Regions from separate parts of the Homo sapiens genome. Here region 2 is linked to region 1. The links are contacts of gene promoters, found by promoter capture Hi-C in blood cells and fetal thymus (Javierre and others, 2016). All regions are on one chromosome and are shown on one strand. The core of a region is centred on a gene start or on the middle of the fragment in contact, and the rest is flanking DNA. Distances in the headings are between cores, read along the strand shown. Region 1 holds the start of CYP19A1 (cytochrome P450 family 19 subfamily A member 1). Region 2 overlaps GLDN (gliomedin).

Region 1 (6,705 bases), core at 367-2,866:
GAATTGCGATTCCCAGTATTGGTGGTGGAGCCCAGTGGGAGGTGACTGGATCATGGGAGTGGTCCTTCATGAATGGTTTAGCACCATCCCCTCAGTGCTGTTCTCATGATAGTGAGTTATCATGAGATCTGGTTGTTTAAAAGTGTGTAGCATCTCTCCTGGCCCCTCTTCCTCCTGCTCCCACCATGTGAGATGTTCCTGCTCCTGCTTTGCCTTCCTCCATGAGTAAAAGCTCCCTGAGGCCTCCCCAGATGCAGGTGCTGCCATGCTTCCTGTTCAGCCTGTGGAACCATGAGCCAATTAAACTTCTTTTCTTGTAAGTTACCCAGTCTCGGGCTTTTCTTTATAGCAAGGCAAGAATGGACTAATACACATACCAATTCTTGCAGGTAGGATTTTTTGGCACAGGAGAGAAAGCTGAGTAGTATCAGACTTCTTGCCCCCTACTCTCCAGGGTGAGCCAGGGTAGAGCCTCTGAGAATGCACAAGGAAACTGAAGTGACATCTCAATCAGAAATTCTGAGTCAAAGTTTAGATTCCTGAGTTTTAATAGGAACATTGACCAACTTCAGTATTCTTAGAAGAGCATACAGGATAAGAAGAAATTAGGAAAGCATGAAGGTCCAAGTGTTTCATAAAGTACCCCCACTGTGGGGATATGATGACTGGGAGGGGATGGCAGTGATGTAAAAAGCTTTGTCCATTTCCTCCCAACTCAAACGTTCTGTGACCTACTTGAAGAACTGTCATGTATCCTTATCTCTTTTCATCCAGGTATCAGGTTTAGGGCCAATGGGGAGGAGCCACTGAGAGGGAGGGTTGACACTCAGCATCATTCAGATCTTCATTTAATTCAGTAAACACTTAACTGAGCACTTCCTGTGCCTGGTATGATAATGGGCATTGGAGATACGGAAGTAAAAAAGACAGGCAGATTACCCTGTGAGCAGCTGGAACACCGTGGAGCCTTCTGGGCTTCTCTTTATCCTAACATTCATTGCAGTTACTGTTGACTGATCATCTCTCAGCAATACCCACCATTAACCATGGAATAGAAGCCTCCTGAGGCTAGGGGCCATGTCACCCCCAACACATAGCACAGTTCCTGATTTGGAATTCACTATTACCCGTTGAATAAATGAGTGAATGAACGAATGAATAAATGAAAAGCTGTATAGTGAAGGCACTTCTATGTAGAACAATGTGGTGTGTGGTGGGGGGTGTGATCTTATGATTACATGTATATAGATTTTTGTCCATGGTTCTTGTCCATAACTCCCATGACACTTGCTGAGGTCTTTTGCTATAATGTAGAGGTGCTTTAGGCCTCAGGAAACAGAATATTTCTCTGGCCTTCTTTGCCCTCCTTTCATCCACCCAAGGCGGGACTCTATAATCTGATTGTGGGTCATAAGACCCTCATTCCAGAGGAGGTCATGCCCCATACCCTGGAGGAAGGAATGCTGCACAAAGAGAGGAAGAAGAATCTGGACAGACAGACCTTGCTGAGATTAGATCATACCCTTTTTGTCCAATCACATTTTGTTCAATCACATGCTTCAGTCATGGACAACAAATGAAATCTCCATAAAAGGCCCAAAGGACAGGGTTCAGGGAGTTTCTGGAGGGCTGAACACGTGGAGGCAAACAGGAAGGTGAAGAAGAACTTATCCTATCAGGACGGAAGGTCCTGTGCTCGGGATCTTCCAGACGTCGCGTATGTATCTCTTAATCTGACTGAGCCCTCAACCTGTGGGATCAGACACTCTTTCCAGGTAGATAGTGTTGGAACTGAGTTGGAGGACACCCAGCTGGTGCCCGCTGCTTGGTGTGTGGGGGAAAATCCCCTACATTTGGTCGCAGAAGTCTTCTGTGTTGATGACTGTTGTCGTGGTGTGAGAGCAGAGGGAAAACACTGCTTGAGTGTTTTTCTGAAATAGGAGGGCCTAAGAACTATACTGTTCTATGCCACAGAACTGGCCCCCTACTTTCCTTGAAAGGCTGGCTATCCAATGGTGAGGAGAGGAAGTGGTAGCCTGAACCAGCCTCCCCATTTCCCCACCTCCCACCCCAGTTCAGAGCCCAGATCCAGTAGACAGAGCAGAGATGAGGCCTGCTTGGAGCCAGGCAGGCTCTATTAGACAACTTCAGGCCAAGAAGCTGCCCCTCTTGGGATGCAGGACTCAAAAGGCTTGTAGCATGGCCACCCCGTGGGCTGGGTTGGTGGAAAGCCTGGGATATTGCTCTGGGGCAAGAGGGGCAGAAGGAAGCGCAAATGAAAAGCCAGACTCCTTTCCTACCAGACTCCACTGTCAGATCCCTCTCCAACTCTTCCTGTGTGGGATGATGGCATTTTTCACAGAAGAAGGGGGACATGTTGATATGGCCTACAAGGTAGACATCTTCACTCATCTCTCACCCTAAAGTGGCTGTGCCCAAGCAGCTGCCATGCTCTGCCCTCTTTCCTCTTCTCCTCTATCTTCTCTCTCCAACCCTCTTTCCACCGCAGTGCCACACAGTGACCTATCTCCATCACTGGCCTATTTCAGTGTTGCCCACTTTAAGGCCTAACTCCGAGTACCCTTCCTCATCTAGCCTTGACTTCCTAGGCCAGTCCCAAGCACTGTGAGCTCTACAAGCTGCAGGGGCTCTGTGGTTATGCACCTGGGCTTTGGAATCAGACCTGACCTTGAAACTGTTTTTTAACTGCATGACTTTAGATATGCTACTCAAGTTCTTTAAAGAGACTGTAATTGTATCTATTTCATAGGGTTGTGAAGCTTTAATAAGAAAATACTTGTAAAGCACTTGTATAATAAATGTTCAACACGGGTTGGTATTGTTGGATATGGGCCATATGAACTGGCTGAGACTTACACTGTGTGTGCCTTGTGCTGTTAGTTGACACTTTAGTTCTTCTGTGCCTTGTGCTGTTAATCGACATCTTAGTTCTTCCACATCCTATTTCTTCAGTTGGGTTACAATATTCTTAAGGCAGGGACCTATCTTAACTGTCCTCTCACAGCAGGGACTTGTGCCAAGTAGGAATATTTGATTAATGGATTCATTAGCTAATCACACTTTGTAGATGCTTTTTGAGGAACAGAACTTTTGAATGCACGATAAACTTGGGTTCTCGTCTGAATACCATGGCTTTGAGGTTGGTTATATGGAGCCTTTCAGTGTGAATCCCTAAGCCTCTTGAGATTTCTTGAGAGGCAGATATGCCTGCATAGCCTGCCCTGCCTGATACTTCACAGAATGGGCTGCTACTTTTTACTTATTATTAAAAAAAAAAAAAAGCTATCAATCTGGCCTGTTTTGTTGACACAGGAGGCTCAGGATATAATGCGGACACAGGGAGATATCTCAATTCCCTTTTTTTGGAGACCAAAGCAGCCAAGAACATTGTGTGCTATCTTTACAATGAGAAGTAGTTTTTCCATTAAAAGGCAGATGCTTCATTTCCAAAAGTTAAATAGAATGGTCCTTAAAAATGATTCCAGCTGGTTAACTTTAGGGCTCTGGAGAATAAAATCAAATTCAAGAATATACCCCAACTTTAGTTCCACAGCATTTCTTCCTGATTGTGAAGTAAATAATTTTCCTGGCCTGGCACTTGGGTATTCTTGTCTTCAGTGATGAGATTGACAGCTACACTGTGACTTTTGATGGTTTTACTGCCCCACCACCCTTCCACCACACTGGTGATTAGGGAGAGAGCCACCCTAAAAGTTGTCACCACATGCATCTTCCACTCAGCCTCTTATGGTTTTAACTCCCCATTCCTACTGTTAAACCCCAAGAAACTTCACACCATCCAACCAAAGTCAGCAATTCTCCCTTTTTTCTTTCTTTTATTCTTTCATGTATTCATTTACTCAGCAAATGGTAATTGGGTGCCTACTATCTGCCAGGAACTGTGCCAGGAGCCAGGAATAGCATGGAGAGCAAAGCCAGGCATCATTCCTGAAGCCTGGAGTGGGGAGACAGATTTACCAAACAATATTAGACATGAGGGTGCAATTCTAAATGCGGCCACGAGACAAATGCTCTGGAAGAAAGGAATGCAGTTCCTTGAGATCATATCACTGAAGAGCCTGTCCTAGAGTTGGATGTGTGGTTCAGGGAAGGCTTCCCTGAGAAAAGGATGCTTGTGTTGGCACCTGAAGCTGAGTTGTAAACTAGGCGAAGATAGGGGTGAGGAGAATTGCAGAGAGGAGGAACAACACGTTCAAGGCCCTATGGCAGGAGATGGCATGGCTTATTTGAGGAACCGTAAGAAGCCAATGCGGTGCCACATGGAGCGTCAGGAGCAAGGAGGAGGGAGTGAAATGAGGCTGTAACCAAGGCAGGGACCAGACTCTGTGGGTGGGACCTTCCTTGTAGGGCTGAGGCCTTTACTGTAAAAGCAATGGGAAACAAATGAGGAGTTTTACGTGTGTGTGGGATGGGGAGGAGTCGGTAGATGGATGACAGATTTTCATTTTAAAAGATTACCTTTTACTGCCAAGACTTGCAGTGGCTTCTGTCACTATGGAAACCATGTATGATCTCTGACCTCCACCAGGGCCAACTTCAGCCTTTAAAACCACCTGGAAATAAGGAAGTGCTGAGTTCTAGAAAATGTAACTTTCTCTTTCATCTGTATGTAAAAAGGTAGTTGAAAAACAGAACCGTGACTAAATTTAGATCATTTAGCCAATCTTGATACTAGTAGGGGTTTTTGTATAAAACACAGTGTGTTGTTAGCATTTTCTTGGAAGTTAGCCTTTGGTGCTTCCAGGTAAGAGCACCAAATCTGCTTATCTCTAGGGTTGGGAATAAGAATAGATGATATTGCTTCCGTTGTGAGATTTTGGTCCAAGTCGGGCTGGTAACAACAGATTTCCGCCTATCGTAGTAGCAGTGTCTTAGACCTTTGAGTTGCCCACTCATTGTTTGACGTGGAGCTGTCTGTGGTTGTGAAGGTGATGCCATTTCAAATCCCCACTTCCCATTGTTTTCTCTCCTTCTTTGCAACAAACATGCCCTCCCACCCCACCCCACTCCACCTTTCTAGTGTAGTGTACCCAATTGTCACAGATCAGATTCTCTGGAAACAAGTGCTGAGATGGAATTTGGAGTACAAAATGGTTATTAGGGATCAGCACCTATGAAGGAAAGAAGGAGAAGCAGGATTGGGCAGAGGGAGAAATCCAGCACAGTCCAACCCTGCAAAGCCTCAGCCAACCCACTGGGAAGCTCTGGATTGTGTATTGCTCATCAGAGTGTCCTGTGTCAGGCCAGAGTGACTGGGCTTTTACCTACCTCACTCAGTCACAGGACAGATGTGGGATGCCCTGGGAAGGTATGACCTGGGGCCAGGTGGCTCTCTGCAGCTGAAGCATGCTTTAATCTTAATCTCTGCAGCCAGGCAGTCAGTCCTTTCTTGAAGGGGGACCCTCAGGTCCCCACATCTCCACATCTACCACATCAACCACCTGAATCTGCCATTCCAACATTAGTAGGCTTTAAATTGTAACCGTGACAGGCTGTAGAAAGAAATCTTTTCCTTTTTCACCTGGAGTGATGGCCTTTCAATAAATGAAAAAGTGATTGTTTTCAGAAACAATGAAAATGTAAAGGAAGCTCTAAGAGTGGATTCTGTGCAATCATGAGAATGGCTCATGAATTTGAAACTGCAAAATCCACAGAAGTAAGTTAATACTGCAAAGCTCCACTTATGGAACTCGAGCCACTGTTTTTGAAAGATAAAACAAAGCCTTACATGTGTAGAGCACTTCAGTTTTCAAAGTGCTTTCTCATGTCATTTGAGTTCCATAATAAGCCTGTGAACGGGGCAGGGCAGGTTTTATAAGCATTTCACAGATGAGGAAGTCAGGGCTCAGGAGGTTTAAGTGATCTGCCCAAGGTCACATTGTTGAAACCTCATCAACGTTCACCCATGCCCTGTTTATCAAAAGTAGGAAATTTTTGGCCCCCATCTTGGGCCACTGAGGAATGCTCAAAATGATGGACAGGAAGTGAAACAATAGAGCAGGGAAATGATTCAAAGTGATGGAGTGGAAAACAGCTCAGACTGGCACTTGGCTCCAAGGCTTAAAAACAAACCTGGAGCAGACACTGAATGCTAGAATGTGTAAGCTAGTCAGGAAAGAAAGCCAAGCCTGGTCTAGCAGATTAAGGAGGATTTTAAGAGATCAATGATGTAAGAACATGATTTCCTAAAAACCATGTAGGGGAACTGTCATCTCTGCAGTGAATAGGTGCATATAGGTCCTAAAAAAAAAGTGAATTTGGGGCCTGATAGCCTAAGACCTTTCATTCCTGGGTTGCAAAGGCAGAGTAACAAGCTAGAATAGATATGCCTCACCTCTCCAGAGAGACTGGTTGGGAGTGACCAAAAGGGATTCCTGCCAATATTAAGCCTGGAGAAGATGACACCCCATCTGCTGAGCCTGGAGACTCAAGCCAGGGACCAGAGGAGTGGCCCCGGCTAAGAGAAGCTTACCTTTTATTGCCAAGACTTGCACTGGCTTCTGTCACTATGGAAACCACGTATGATCTCTGACCTCCACCAGGGCCAACTTCAGCCTTTAAAACCACCTTTCCAAATGAAACAAGAAAGTGCTGAGTTCTAGAAAATGTGACTTTTTAGGTCAAACTGTGGACCCTAAACATGTGCTACTTTCTTAAAGCTGT
Region 2 (6,813 bases), core at 3,079-5,578, 34 kb before region 1:
TACATAATAATTGATAATAAATGACTATTACTGCTTTGTGCATTTACTATGTTATCCTTTTTAAAATCTTTTTAAAAAGTTTCCAGCTGACATCTTGACATCACCATATTTTGTATTGTTATTATAGACTGTACTCCTTCTACTTAGAAGAAAAAAGTTAACTGTAAAACAGCCTTAGGCAGGTCTTCAGGAGGTATTCCAGAGGAAGGCACTGTTGTCACAGCTCCATGCATGTTATTGCCCCTGGAGACCCTCCAATAGGACAAGATGTGGAGATGGAACACAGTGATATTGATGATCCTGACCCTGTGTAGGCCTAGGCTAATGTGTGAGTTTGTGTCTTCATTTTTAACAAAAAAGCTTAAAAAGTAAACAAACAAAAAACACCAAATTTTAAAAATAGGAAAAAGCTTACATAATAAGGATATAAAGTATTTTTGTAGATCTGTACAATGTGTTTGTGTTGTGTTATTACAAGTCAAAAAGTAAAAGACATTAAAATTTTATAAAGTAAACATGTCACAGTAAGCTAAGGTTAATTTGTTGAAGAAAGAAAATATTTTAAAATAAATTTGGTGTAGCCTAAGTGTACAGTGTTTATAGAGTCTACAGTGGTGTACAGTCATGTCCTGGGCCTCCACATTCACTCACCACTCACTCACTGACTCACCCAGAGCTACCCCAGTTCTGTAGCTCCATTCATGGTAAGTGTCCTATACAGGTGAGCCATTTTAAATCTTTTATACTGTTGTTTTATGGTACCTTTCCTATGTTTAGATACACAAATATTTACCACTGTGTTACAGTTGCCTACAGCATTCAGTACTGTAACATGTTGTACAGGTTTGTAGCCTAGGAGCAATAGGCTTTTCCACATAGCTGAGGTGTGTTGTAGGCTATGGCATCTAGTTTCCTGCAAGTACACACCATGATGTTTACACAACAAAATTGCCTAATGACGTATTTCTTAGAATGTATCCATGTGGTTACATGACATATGACTGTAGTTAACATAACACTTGAAAGAAACCCTTAAAAGATCTAAGAATATTCGCTATCAGCAGCTTATCTATCAACATCATCAAGAGAATTTCCTTGAATTTCTATGGAATTCTGACAGAGGATGACGAGGGAATTGCCAAATCCAACTTTCACCACCATAATGAGCCAGCCCCCACAGCATCTGAAGGGCTCAATTTTTGGGCCTGAATAAAAGGGGTGGTGAGCCTAGTGGTTGGGAGGAAGCACCTATTAACTGGGTGAACACAGATGAAGTACTTAACCTCTTGGAACTCTGATCTCCTCCTCTGAATAATATAAGCACCTGGCCTTGAGGAATGCACCTGCTCAGTCCCTGGCACGTGGAAACTGCCCCTGGGTGGCAGTGATTCTCATGCCATGTGGACACTCCCCACTGGATGACCACCTGTGGCAGGTGGTCACTGCAGCATGGCATTAGCCTGACGTTTTCAAAACCAATGGGAATAAGGAAAACATCTGGCTGCCTCACACCCACCGTATACCCCTTCCCATTCTCCACACTGCTCCAGCGAGCTTCAGAAAAAACAAATCTGACTGTGCTAAATTCATAGGCTGCTACTGAAAGATCTCTAAGATAAATGAAAAAATGCAAATATAGAGCAGCACATATAACATACTTTTGTTCATGTAAAACAGTGCTGCACACAGAAATGCTTCTATGTGTTTGTCTCTTGCTGCTTTTAAGATAATCTCTTTATCTTTCCAGAATATTTGTGTAGATTTAGAAAACCTCAAGTGAGGGGAAAATGGAGGGCCAGGGTGGAAGGGAGCTGTACTAAACATGATACAATCATTGTCTTTTTCAAAAATTTCACTGATTACTCTTTCCATTAAACTATTTTTCAAAATGCCATGTTTTGATGTGAGGGGAAAATAATTTTTGTATTGTATCTAGATTTATTCTGTTAGGAGATCCAGAGGAAAACTTATATTGTATTTACTTTTTGTCAAGTATGTCAACAGCTATTTATTGCCTGCTTTAGAAACTTATTGTGAAATATTCATACATATCACACATGTAGAAAATGTGGGCCTGGTGTGGTGGATCATGTCTGTAATCCCAGTGCTTTGGTAGGCCAAGGTGGGAAGATTGATTTCAGCCCAACCAGCCTGGGTAACATAGTAAGACCCTTTCTCCATGAAAAAATTAAAAATTAGCTGGATATAGTGGCATGCATATATAATCCCAGCTACTTAGGAGGCTGAGGTGGGAGGATTGTTTGAACCCTGGAGGCTGAGGCTGCAGTGAACAGTGATCCCACCACTGCACTCCAGCCTGGGTGACAGAGCAACACCCTGTCTCAAAAAAAAAAAAAAAAAAAGGAAAAGAAAGAAAAGAAATGTGTACAGATAATTTAACGATGAATAATATGACAAACACATATATATGAAATGAAATGGAAGTTTACCAATGCCTTGGAAGACTTCTGGATGTCCCCTCACCCCCAATAGCTCTCTGAGTTGGAGTACACTTATCCATTTAATTCAGATAAGAAAATAGAGGCTTAGAGAGATGCCATCATTTACTCAAAATCACACAGCTTGCTGGTAGAAGAAATGGGACTGAACTCCAGGTTTCCTGATTCCAGGTCCACTCTACTTTCTATTATGGCTCTGGTGATTATCTTAACATCACCAGACAGAAAAAAAATTGATTCACTGCCTTTAGTCATTTTCATAAATGAATGTAATCAGCTGCACTAGGAACAAAATTTATTGTCTTAAAAAATGTGTAATTGCCCATTGAGAGGACCAGAAAAGACTTCACAATGGCTTCATTTGTTGCCTGGGGGATCACAGCAGAAGGGGTGGTTGGAAACAACAGAAGCAACAATAGGGAAAATTAGCCTTTCTGTTTGGTACTAATCACTGATCTGGGGCAGGTGCAGCTTCTGTAAAAACTATGAAGCAGTTTTCATTTCCTGACCTTTTGATTTCATTTGTATGCTAAATGTCAATTGAGATATTTACCAGTAAATTATGTTAATCTTTACTCAAGAATAGTCTTTTAACGAAATTGGGCTGTGTATATAAGATTGTATTGAGATGAAATATATGATATGAAAAGGTGTGGCCATAAAGTTAGAAACTTTTTTCTGGTCATAATGATTAAAAATTGGAATCAAAATAAGAAAACTCCCAATTGAAAGTCACAAAATCTAGATGGTCAAATTAAGGAGTCATATTTTGCATTAAGGGCCTCTTAAGTCTTGAGGGAGGTCTTGAGAAGGTTGAAGCTGGAAGAGTCCTTAGAGGTCATTGTCCTGGGGGTACTAGGCATGACCCATCCATGTTGTGGCCCTGCCCCCGCACCTTGTAGGGCATCTCCCAGTGCTCTCCCCCTCCCTGCCCATCACTGTCACTCTGCTCCAGTCGCACTGGCCTCGTCGCTGGTCTTGGCCTTGCCTAGCGTGCTGTGCCACACATCTTTACATGGTGAGCTTCACTGATGCCTCAAGTCAGGCTTTCCTGTCTCTCAACTGAAGGGAGCCCAGACAGCCACTCCCCATCACCTCATCTGGCCTTTTGTCTTTGTAGCACTTATCATTATTCAGTACAGTTGACCTTGAATGATACAGGTTTGCACTGTGTGGGTCCACTTGTACACGAACTTTTATCAGTAAATATAGTCAGTTATCCATATACACAGGTTCTGCATCCGCAACCAAACATGGATTGAAAATACAGTATTTGAGGGATGCGAAACTCTCAGAAATGGGTGGCTGACTTTTCATATACTTGGGTTCCACAAGACCAGCGTCAGGAACTTGAGTGTGTGCGGATTTTGGTATTCACAGGTGTCCTGGACCCAATCCCCCACAGATACTGAGGAATGACTGTATTATCTTGCTTACATATTTATTACCTACTCCTGCTCCCCAGAGAAAGGAAGCATTTTGAGAGCAGAAAAACTTCTTTGTTTTGTCTGCATCTCCTGTACTATGATTTGAATATGTCCTCCCAAATGCATGTGTTGGAAACATAATCCCCAACATAACAGTGTTGGGAGGTGGGGCCTAAAGGAGGACATTTAGGTCTGCAGAACTCCACCCTCATGAATGAATTAATGCTGATTATAAGGGGGCTTGAGTTCACTCTCTTGCCCTTTTGTCTTCTGCTGTGGAATGATGCAGGAAGAAGGCCCTCACTAGATTCTGGTACCTCAATCTTGGACTTCCCAGCCTCCAGAATTATGAGAAATAAATTTCTGCTCATTATAAATTACCCTATCTGTGGTTTTCCATTATAGCAGCACAAAAGAGACTAAGGTACCCTGTGTCTAGAATAGTGCCCGGTCCCAGGCCTGGAACTTCTCTGCTGAGAAGTGGTTCAAGTGGGAAAGCACATCAACCGTCTCTAAGGAAGAGTTTCTCTGAGAGAAGATGACAATAAATTGCTAATCAGTTCATGATATGAGAATCTGGTGGTGCTGGGGAGAGGGTGGGTGAAGCACAGGAAAAAGTCCAACCCAGCCACGCTAGCATGGAGGACAGACTTAGTGGGAACGATGGGCTGTCAACCTGAGTGCAAAATAATAAGCAGTAGCCCCGAGAGCTCAGGATGAATGCCCTGTTGGCTGTAAGCATCACTGAGGAGTGAGAATTATCTCCCAGAAGAAACAATGGGGCCCATCAGGTTCATCTCCCAGGTGGGAAGATCAATGCAGCAACGGACAGGGACATATTACATTGCATGGCGACTTGTTTTCAGCATTGAACGTTTGGTAGCTGCTATGGTTTGAGTGTCCCTTCCAAAACTCATGTTGAAACTTGATCCTGAATGTGGCAGTATTGAGAAAGGGGGCCTTTTAAGAGGTTATTGGATCATGAGGGCTCTGCCCTCAAGAATGGATTAATCCATTCATGGATTAATGGGTTATCATGGTAGTGGAACTGGTGGCTTCATGTGAAGAGGAAGAGAGTCCTGAGTGAGCACACTTCAATCCCTTGCTATGTGATGCTCTGTCTCACTTGGGACTCTTCAGAGAATCCTCACCAACAAGAAGGCTGTCACGAGATGCAGCCCATCAACCCTAGACTTCTCAGTCTCTATCACTGTAAAAGATAAATTCCTGGCCAGGCGCGGCGGCTCATGCCTATAGTCCCAACACTTTGGGAGGCCAGGGTGGGTGGATCACCTGAGGTCAGGAGTTCAAGACCAGCCTGGCCAATATGGGGAAACCTTGTCTCTACTAAAAATAGAAAAAAATTAGCTGGGTATTGTGCCATGCTTCTGTAATCCCAGCTACTTGGGAGGCTGAGGCAGGAGACTCGCTTGAACCCATGAGGCAGAGGTTGCAGTGAGCTGAGATCGAGCCACTGCACTCCAGCCTGGGTGACAGAGTGAGACTCCATCTTGAAAAAAAAATTCTTTTCTTATAAATTATCCAGTTTCAGGTATTCTGTTATAATAAACAGAAAGTGGACTAATACAATAGCGTTAGGGGAAAAGATAGCCCAAATGGGCCCTACTGGCAGCCTGACCAGCTTTTCCAGTTTTTTTCTCTGAAAAGGGAACTATTCTCATTGGATTAGCAGAACTCTTGGGGATCTTGGCCAAGGAAGAGGCCCCAGGAGAAAAAGAACAGACTTCTTGCTGACCTGGCATCAGATGGCTTGAGCTTGTTTTAATTCAAACTAAACAGAGATGGGACATAACTTGGCAGTATCTGTTAAAAAGAAAATGCTACAAATTAGGAATCCCACTTGGAAGAGTATACAAGGATATCTGGACAAAAATGCTCAATGCAACACTGTGTGGCAGAACATGCAAAGGTTTGTCAATAAGGGTCTTGTTGAACAAATTTTAAAGGATGACATAGATCTATATGTACTATTGGAAAGACAGCCTTGGCATGGTGTTAAGTGACGAAAGCAAAATGCAGCCCAAGCCACATAATGCAACACAACTTTTTGGTTGATAAATAATCCCTAGATGTTTTTGTATAAGTACACAAAAAAGCTGGGAGGTTCATGAAACCAAACAACTGATATTCTTCCCCCTAGAGACTGAGACTAGGGAATAAGAAGGGGATAGGTTTTTTTTTTTAATTTTTTATTTTTTGAGATGGAGTCTCACTCTGTTGCCCATGCTGGAATGCAGTGGCACCAACTTGATTTACTGCAACCTCCGGCTTGAGGCAGATTCAAGCAATTCTCCTGCCTCAGCCTTCCAAGTAGCTAGGACTATAGGTGCACACCACCACACCCAGCTAATTTTTGTATTTTTAGTAGAGATGAGATTTCACCATGTTGGCCAGGCTGGTCTGGAACTCCTGACCTCAGGTGATCTGCCCACCTCAGCCTCCCAAAGTGCTGGGATTACAGGCGTGAGCCACTGTACCTGGCAGATTTTTTTTTCTCACTTTTTAATTGAGATGGTTGTAAAGGTATGTTGGAATAATAAGTGATTTTTTTTTTTTTACTTTTCTGTGTTTTTAGTAATCCAGAGAGAATGGAAAGCATGTTAGTGTTGTGTGAACCCAAACATCATGTTCTCACGATTACCCCCATCACTTGAAATTACTTGGACAGATCTCTGTTGTTTCTAGGCAAATGAACAGAATGAACTAGAACTCTTGTAAAGTCCAGTGATTTTCAAATTGTTCATTAGCCATAAGACTTTTATTTTCCTTATATAAGCACCAAATCCCAAAATATAAAGCAAATAAAAATGGAGCTGCCCTGGGTAAACAGGTGGGGTTGACCTTAGTTATTTGTCTGTAAAATGAGAGGGTTGGACATGACAGATGATTTTCAGACTCTGATCCCA

Evidence for each region. Contacts are between HindIII fragments. The CHiCAGO score rates a contact against its expected background, and 5 or more counts as called.
Region 2: a fragment that was not itself captured here is called in contact with the fragment with the promoter of CYP19A1 in region 1 in 1 of 17 cell types (M1 macrophages); the score reaches 5.6 in M1 macrophages.

The regions. Positions count from the first base shown.
Region 1 is chr15:51,333,507-51,340,211 of GRCh38, reverse strand. It overlaps CYP19A1 (cytochrome P450 family 19 subfamily A member 1), which reads left to right and starts at 1,616. Exons shown (of 10, transcript NM_000103.4): 1 at 1,616-1,717. RefSeq lists cis regulatory regions at 1,310-1,339, 1,404-1,421, an enhancer at 1,373-1,452 and promoters at 1,373-1,691, 1,114-1,691. The HindIII fragment of the contact is 2,086 bases long and covers 697-2,782 here.
Region 2 is chr15:51,370,287-51,377,099 of GRCh38, reverse strand. The region is part of intron 1 of GLDN (gliomedin); the gene reads right to left. Among named protein-coding and RNA genes, the nearest start is that of GLDN, 32 kb to the right of the region's middle. The HindIII fragment of the contact is 7,832 bases long and covers 413-6,813 here.